3 separate regions of the Homo sapiens genome follow, and regions 1 and 2 are each linked to region 3. The links are contacts of gene promoters, found by promoter capture Hi-C in blood cells and fetal thymus (Javierre and others, 2016). All regions are on one chromosome and are shown on one strand. The core of a region is centred on a gene start or on the middle of the fragment in contact, and the rest is flanking DNA. Distances in the headings are between cores, read along the strand shown. Region 1 overlaps RMND1 (required for meiotic nuclear division 1 homolog). Region 2 overlaps DCPH1 (damage control phosphatase 1). Region 3 holds the start of FBXO5 (F-box protein 5).

The links. The method cuts DNA at HindIII sites, captures the fragments that hold promoters and counts their contacts. A CHiCAGO score of 5 or more calls a contact.
Region 1: a contact is called between a fragment that was not itself captured here and the fragment with the promoter of FBXO5 in region 3, in 1 of 17 cell types (non-activated CD4 T cells). The highest score is 5.7, in non-activated CD4 T cells.
Region 2: a contact is called between a fragment that was not itself captured here and the fragment with the promoter of FBXO5 in region 3, in 2 of 17 cell types (non-activated CD4 T cells and naive CD4 T cells). The highest score is 7.2, in non-activated CD4 T cells.

The regions. Positions count from the first base shown.
Region 1 is chr6:151,436,129-151,438,834 of GRCh38, forward strand. It overlaps RMND1 (required for meiotic nuclear division 1 homolog), which reads right to left. Exons shown (of 12, transcript NM_017909.4): 3 at 318-426. Among named protein-coding and RNA genes, the nearest start is that of RMND1, 15 kb to the right of the region's middle. The HindIII fragment of the contact is 1,848 bases long and covers 327-2,174 here.
Region 2 is chr6:151,454,201-151,456,900 of GRCh38, forward strand. DCPH1 (damage control phosphatase 1) reads left to right here. Exons shown (of 5, transcript NM_024573.3): 2 at 348-453. Among named protein-coding and RNA genes, the nearest start is that of DCPH1, 3.1 kb to the left of the region's middle. RefSeq lists an enhancer at 1,202-1,959 and a silencer at 1,594-1,888. The HindIII fragment of the contact is 3,808 bases long and covers 1-2,700 here.
Region 3 is chr6:152,981,754-152,984,453 of GRCh38, forward strand. FBXO5 (F-box protein 5) reads right to left here and starts at 1,288. Exons shown (of 5, transcript NM_012177.5): 1 at 1,104-1,288. The coding sequence starts at 1,206. RefSeq lists silencers at 722-791, 1,272-1,591 and enhancers at 1,622-1,841, 2,132-2,251. The HindIII fragment of the contact is 9,521 bases long and covers 194-2,700 here.

The DNA.
Region 1 (2,706 bases), core at 1-2,500, 1.5 Mb before region 3:
CAAAACACACACAGACACACACAAACTAAAATAACTTCTTAATGTGCTAGAAATGAAGTAGTATGACCTCTGACCACCTCAAGTAATAATGATCCTATAAATAATCTTAATAAATCATACTGATTTTAATGAGTTCTCTGTAAATACATTTTAATTCTTAACTTTGTCATCTTTATAAAGAGATTCAACATCCACTTTTATGATACAATCCTTTCAAAAGAAAATGAATTGCAAACAAATACATACTTAAGATAGTATCATAGGAAAATTATCCAATACATTTTAACATACTTGGCCCCAGGTTCAAGAAGAAGTACCTCTAGGCAAGCTTGTTACTTCAACATATCCGTGGGAGGCCAGATCTTGAGACAGATTTCCCAGATGATACTCATCTGCCGTTGCAAATGCTGTGCAGTGCATTAGGTCCTGTTCCAGGGAAATGAGCATAACATGGGTTACCAAGAGGCTGAAGCATCTGTGACGGCTGCTGAGCACCCTACTGGACTCCATTCTGCAAAGCTAGAACTCCAGAATTTTCTTCAAACATCTCCAAGGGTGATACAAGGGATGGGATGAAGATGAAGAGAATGAAGTTACTGGGAGGCAAATTTCAGCTCAATCTTGAAAAGAACTTGCTCCCTCCCGCCAGGCAAAAAGATGGAATGGATTATTCTGAAAGGGAAGCCACACTCAACTGGTAGTATCTCAAGCACAGATTGAATGCAAAATAGAGATGATTAAGGCATCACATGGGTGACTGGATGGAATGTTTAAGTCTCTCCAACCCTGAGTTTCCATGACTCTTTTTCAAAGCAACATTAGTATTTGAGGTCATTTCCTAATTTGTAACTACTCTTGTACAGGCAGATTCCTTTAAATCCCCAAAGGAATTACAGTATTTTTACACTGGTTAACATTTAACAAAAAGGTCTGTAAATCTGAGCATGTGTCTTGGTTTGGTTTGTACTTTGTCTCATGCCCCATCTTGCCTTTGCACACATGAGGAAAGTCATCTTGTGTCTATATAAAATACAGATGGTAAGCACTATGGCTCAATGCTGTGTTTTTTCAAACTGTAAGTCACAACACATTAGTGAGTTCTGATACCAATTTAGTTGGCCCAAAACAGCTTTTTTAATAAAACTAAATAGAAAATATTACAGTGCATTATTCACAGGAAATGCTATTTTATGAAGTTTTCTGTCACTTACATGTATCTATGTATCTACTCTAGGTCGCTATGTATGTAAAATGTTAAATATATTTCTCACTATAAGATGTGGTCAATAAAGTTTGAAAGCTATTGGCATAAGAGTTAAGATTTTAGGCACAGAAGTTGGTTACAATTTTAAAAGAGTATCAGAATAACAATAATGCCTACTTTATGGGGTTGTTGTAAAGTTTAAATAAGCTAATAAACAAAGTGCTCAGGACTGTGGCTAACACAACTGTTCAGTAGTTGTTAGATTCTAGTTGGCCAAAACAAGTTTATGAGTCACTAAATCAACATTTATTCTTAGGATTTACTCCTCTCAGCTCCCCAATTCTTTCCCATTCTGTATATTCCTGGTATGAAATTCTAGAGAAGTATATATTAATTCATTCCTTCCTCCCACCTCCATTCTGTATCTCCTGGCTCTTTCTCATGAAATGGCCTGACCCCATTTGCCCTTCCTCAATCTGTTCCACAGCTCTGATGCGTGGTTTAAAGGTAGAGGAATAACAGAGAACCTGAGGATCCATGCAAACTGAAAAATCCAAAATCAATAAAGTATCTACTCATAAACAAAATGAGACTAATCCAATTAGAAAAAAAGTCAGACAAGCTGAAATTACTGGGGAATGTGGGGATAAATGGATGTAGTACCCTAATTATGAGCAGATAACTGCTAATTCCTTCCAAATTAGCTAATTCCCATAGTCACATATGAAAGTAGGAACACGGGGATATACAAATAAAAATGTATCAGGAGTTACCAGAGTACAGGGAACAGGCACGTGCTTAAGGTTTAGACCTGTGAGCACTAGTTCTTTTTAAGGCTTCATGGAGTTAAAACTAGCTGATGTACGATGTGTGTAAAGATTCGGCCAGCTGAAAGAAAGGAATCCTAGCAAGGGGCATCAGGCGAGACATCGGGTAGGCTCCACTCTGCAAGACCTGGCAAATTCACTCAAGCTTGCTAGGTGAAATCACAGTACATTAGGTTGGATGTCAGAATTACTTCTGTGATGGCTACAGCTCATGTGCTTAGTTTGGGCTGAAGTGGGAAGAGCAAGAGGCACAAAAAGGAGATAAGCAGGTCACAAGCTAGTCCACTGAAGGATCTTCCTGTAGCTGTACTGAAAATGGCAGAGGCTGTCTCTTTTGCTAGAATCGGAGTTGTAAACTGGCAGCTCGGAGAACCATCCAACTCAAGAGTTGACCTACATCACGTTTCTAAAATTCAAATTGACTTGTCAACAATAAACTGAGAGATTTCACACAAAATCCAGATTTCCATCATCATCTGACCGAGTGGAAGATCTGGCTATAATAATGGACTAGGATAGAGTAGGGGGGCCCAGGGTCTCCAGCCCACACTGTCCCTGCCTCTCCCTGTTGTCTCACGTCTGCTTCACCATCATGTGGTACTGGCCAAGCCCATCTGCACTAAGAATGTGTACTACTTTTTTTTTTTTTTCCAAAAAAAACCCAAAAACCTTGGC
Region 2 (2,700 bases), core at 201-2,700, 1.5 Mb before region 3:
GAGCCTGTTTGATTTCTAAGCTAATCCATTCCCTATCCTATCACTTTGCTAAGCGAGTTTCTGATTTAGGAAAATAAAAGCAATAGAATAGGAAAGATAAGAATGATTAAACAGACTCCATGGGAGAATCTGGGATTAGAGGCACCAAGACAGTTTGGCTTCCATGACATACCAGCGAATTTTCCAGGTTTTCTTATGTCTTAATATAGTAATCATACAATACTTGTCTATCTTTTAATAGTTGTATGAGGAGTTTAATATACATGAAGTGTTCCAGAAACTAAAAGATAGCCAGTCTTCTAGTATTGATGCTGCTAAGTTATATATTGCATGTGACTCTTTTCTAGATCATTTGCATATCTTACAATTAAAGACAGAATACCACAGATCTTAACTAAGGTTATTGATACATTGCATCGACATAAAAGTGAATTTTTTGAGAAACACGGAGAGGTAAGAATTGTTTTAACTTTTAATTTTTTGTTAATTTCTCAACAGAAACATAATAAATAGTTCTTGAAGGTATCAATTTTCCTTTAAATGTAAAAATCAATAGATGGGCCAAGTATTTATTTGTTTTTAAGGTAATACATTGAAATGAAGATAGAACAGCCAATCTTCAATTTAGAAAATGATTGTGTTCCAATAATTAATTCTGTCAGTTATTTAGACTTCAGAATGTATTTTCTAATATATGCAATGTTGTAATTGGTGACTGGGCAACAGACTTGCAATTGACTTAGTCAAGTGACTAAGCAATTGAGTTGCTTAGAAGAGCTTTTTAAATTTCAAGTTTAATTTGAGTTGCAGTATTTATATTACTAATTTGAGATCTTGAGTCCTGGAAGTTCAAGCTGCTATGCAAAGCTCAGTGATATGAATTATAATTGATTGACACATTGTACTGATTCAAGTTGGGACTCATTAGCATTCAGTGCAGAATAGGACTTTAGAAATCACTTTGTCCATTCAATTAATGGATGAGGAAAAATCCAAATAACTATGTTATTGAAGGGGTGGGTTGCCCCTCCACACCTGTGGGTGTTTCTCGTAAGGTGGAACGAGAGACTTGGAAAAGAAAAAGACACAGAGACAAAGTATAGAGAAAGAAATAAGGGGACCTGGGGAACCAGCGTTCAGCATATGGAGGATCCCGCCAGCCTCTGAGTTCCCTTAGTATTTATTGATCATTCGTGGGTGTTTCTCCGAGAGAGGGATGTGTCAGGGTCACAAGACAATTGTGGGGAGAGGGTCAGCAGACAAACACGTGAACAAAGGTCTTTGCATCATAGACAATGTAAAGGATTAAGTGCTGTGCTTTTAGATATGCATACACATAAACATCTCAATGCTTTACAAAGCAGTATTGCTGCCCGCATGTCCCACCTCCAGCCCTAAGGCGGTTTTTCCCTATCTCAGTAGATGGAACATACAATTGGGTTTTATACCGAGACATTCCATTGCCCAGGGACGGGCAGGAGACAGATGCCTTCCTCTTGTCTCAACTGCAAGAGGCATGCCTTCCTCTTACACTAATCCTCCTCAGCACAGACCCTTTACGGGTGTCGGGCTGGGGGACGGTCAGGTCTTTCCCTTCCCACGAGGCCATATTTCAGACTATCACATGGGGAGAAACCTTGGACAATACCTGGCTTTCCTAGGCAGAGGTCCCTGCGGCCTTCCGGCCTTCCGCAGTTTTTGTGCCCCTGGGTACTTGAGATTAGGGAGTGGTGATGACTCTCAAGGAGTATGCTGCCTTCAAGCATCTGTTTAACAAAGCACATCTTGCACCGCCCTTAATCCATTTAACTCCGAGTTGACACAGCACATGTTTCAGAGAGCACGGGGTTGGGGGTAAGGTTATAGATTAACAGAATCTCAAGGCAGAAGAATTTTTCTTAGTACAGAACAAAATGGAGTCTCCTATGTCTACTTCTTTCTACACAGACACAGTAACAATCTGATCTCTCTTGCTTTTCCCCACATGTTATGTTAGACATAGGTCTTTAAACTTGTAGGTTCAGTAATCTTTCTATTACACAATAGACTGTAAAAGAGCATACATATACCAGTACATTTTTTTTGAGAGTTGAAAACAAAAATTTAGAGAAATGGTTGGTGATCTTTTCTCCTTGGCCAAATTGAAATGGAGCAAGATAACACACATGCAGTTTGAGTGTAATGTTCTACTTCTTTCAACTTCTTTTATATTGTCTTGTTTAAAACTAATCCTGGCATAACACAGGGATTACCTGTTGTTCCTTGTTGCTAAAATCCGGCTTAATTTAGACACTGACAATTATATTGCTGAATGGTTTTAATGTTTATCACATAAACATAATTTTGGTAACTGACATATCTTTATCACACAAGTATAATTTAGCCAAATTTGGATAGTTCACTTTAGTATTTGGTCATATACGCAAGCAAATTACCATAATACTTTTGTTTTTCTTGTTGTTGTTTTTTGAGACAGGGTCTTGTTCTGTCTACTAGGCAGAGTGCAGTGGTGCAGTCATAGCTCACTGCAGCCTCAAACTCCTAGATTCCAGCAATTCTCCCAGTTCAGCATCCTAAAGTGCTGGCATTACAGGCGTGAGCCACTGTGCCTGGCCCCATAATGCTTTTGTAATTTCAGTTTTTTCGGCCAGAGTGATCTAAAATGTAGTAATTAATGAAGTCCTAGTATATTGCTACTTG
Region 3 (2,700 bases), core at 38-2,537:
AAATTAAAATTAAGTATTTTTTTCTAGAGTTCTTTTTTAATAATAGAGTCATTACAAAATAGTACAATGCCGAATTGCTAAATTTTTTCATTTTGGGTTATTTCTCAGGTAAAAATAAGTGCATATAGATTTTATTTAGAGGTAGCAACAAAGAGGATAAAAATAAGCATTTGAGTGCATTCCATTCTCTGCAAGCTTTGAAATAAAGGACTATCTAATTCTTCATGAGTTATCGGGAAAAAGTCACCAATTCTTCGATTCTTACAAAATCATCTTAATACTATGGACAAATTCAAGGTTCGTAGTAAAAATTGCTTTTTTTAAAGTCTTCCCTTTCCACTCCAGGCCCTGAGACTGGGTTAACGGGCAAAGGGAGAAAAAATTGGGAAAAAGTAACGTTTTTGTTTGGATGTCCCAGTTGAGTTTGGTCCAATGAGTTGGGGGGGTGTCTCTCCATTTGGCGGGAGTGGGGAGGGAGACCCTGGAACTCCTGAGGGATCGGTGGGGCTGCCCCTCAGGGCGCGGGACACGCGGAGGAGGCGGGAGATAACCGCGAGCGCGATCTCCCGCGCCCGCCAGCAAGGCTGGGACCGCGAAAAATCGGGGAAACTGCCTTTGGCTGTGAGGGTGCGGGGCAGATGTAGAAAAGGGGCGCAGGGGGAGAAGGTGAGGCACCTGGCCAGGCCCTGGGGGCTTCTCGCTCGCAGCCCTGTCACCGCCGGGGGCCCCGGGGTGGGGGAGGGGAGGGGCATTTGGCGCCTATTCAAGCAGGGTGGGGTAGGTGGGTCTTCCGAGGAGGAAAAAGGGCGCCCTGGGATGCCACGACCCGCACCTCCCGGGGCTGGAGTCCACGGTCGGCGTGGGTGGCGGGACCCCGCGGCCCGCCATCCCGCCCCTGCACATCTGGCTCTTCTGGCTTCCCCCCGACACCCAGCCGCCCTCCTCCCGGACCCAGGAACCGCTGCCGCCGCCCGAGGCCGGGCGTGTGGCATGGCCGCGCGTCCAGGCTCCGAGGGACGTCGGGTCAGGGTCTCAGGCTGCGACCCTCCCCGTGCACCCCTCCTGGCGTGCGCGCCCCCCTCGCGACCGCTCCCCTCACTCACTATCCGAGGGTCGAGGGCGCCCGGCGGCTGTCACTGCGCTGGGGCTGGCGCTGCAGGAGCAGCGGGGTGGCCGTAGGGCGCAGCTGCAGGGGCGCCGGCTCATGCCAGCCGACGTGGAGTCTGCCTCAGGTGGAGGAACCGCTCCGGGGGCAGCTGAGCAACCTGCCTGCTTCACAGACCTGTATCTCTTAAAAGGCGCCAGCTGGTACTTTTAAAATCTTTGAATTTGGTGCCTAAATCCGCGCGGTCCAATGAGACGCGTCGCTTGCATGCGCGCACCAATAGGAGGGCAGTGGGTGGGGGCGCCCTCGTCCGCGCCCAATTGGAGGCTGCCGAGGCGGGGCCGAGCCGCGAAGCCCAGCCCCCTTCCAGCTTACCGGCTCCCCACGTCCGGAAAGATGCTACGGCCGGGGGCGGGACCTCCGAGCACGGGGAGGCCGCGGCCCGGCCACACGTGTGGAGGGTCTATCACGCATGCGTGCGCCCGCCAAGATTCCTTCCGCCGTCTTCTGGACCGGCCTCCTGCAAGTCCTAATCTCAGCCCAAATTCAGCGCTGGCTTCCATCTGGAGATCTTTGATGGGTACAAATGGTAGCCGACTTTCTTCGATCATCTCTCGAACGGGAGTTCGGTGAGCAGCAACTCGGCTCGTCCGGGAATCCAGACTTTCCGGAAGACGGACCCTCCCCCCAGTCCAGCTTAGCCCGCCTCTCTAGGATTTACGCGCGCGCTCTGCTCTCCCTCCTAACTCGACCCTCCCCTTGACCCACGCCTCTGCGCAGGCGCCTTGGCGGGCTGTGGCTGCGGAGTTGGCGGGTCGGCGCCTGCGCACTGGAGTCCCCCGCGATTTTTTCCTCCGGGGTGGGCGAGGAGGCTGTGCGGCCTTCCCCAGCGGCTGTAGCAGGAGACCTGCGGCTGCATCTCCCAGGGCCTTCCGGCGGGGCCGAGGGTAGGACCGAGGCACTTCTTCCTTGCAAGCGCGTTTATTTGTATTTTCAACCACACTTCAGACGCTACTGGTTTATAGGAACGTTAAGTTTACTGAGTGTGCAGCTACGCTCCCCTGGGTTTTTGTTCCTTTCCTTAAAGGGCCAGGTGTAGGAGACAGTAGTCCTGCTCCCAAAAAAAGAATAAATAGAAGTGCCCGCCCTCTTGGGCTGGACCCCCGTGGCCAAGGGAGTTTTTAGTGATGGCTGGCATGGACGTCAGTATGAAAGTGTACCGGAGTATTAGTGATGCTTAACTTTTCACAATTTGAATATGCACTTAAGTAGGGCAGTGCATTCCCTGAACTCAGCTTTATGGCTACAGCCCAGTGAAGCAACGGGATGTGAACTCCAAAACGGCGAATCCTCCTTTGCTGTTTCCCTCTGGTGCCTTTCTGCAGCCTCGGAGTGAGTTCTTGGCTGTAGTCAGTTTTCAGTACCGTTAGTGACGAGTCCGGTGGGGCGCGGCCAGGATTAGGATGAATCATACAAGTGCTGGGTGGATCCTGTCTTTACCTAAAATTTTGATAATTAGTTGTGGGGCGCGGCCAGGATTAGGATGAATCATACAAGTGCTGGGTGGATCCTGTCTTTACCTAAAATTTTGATAA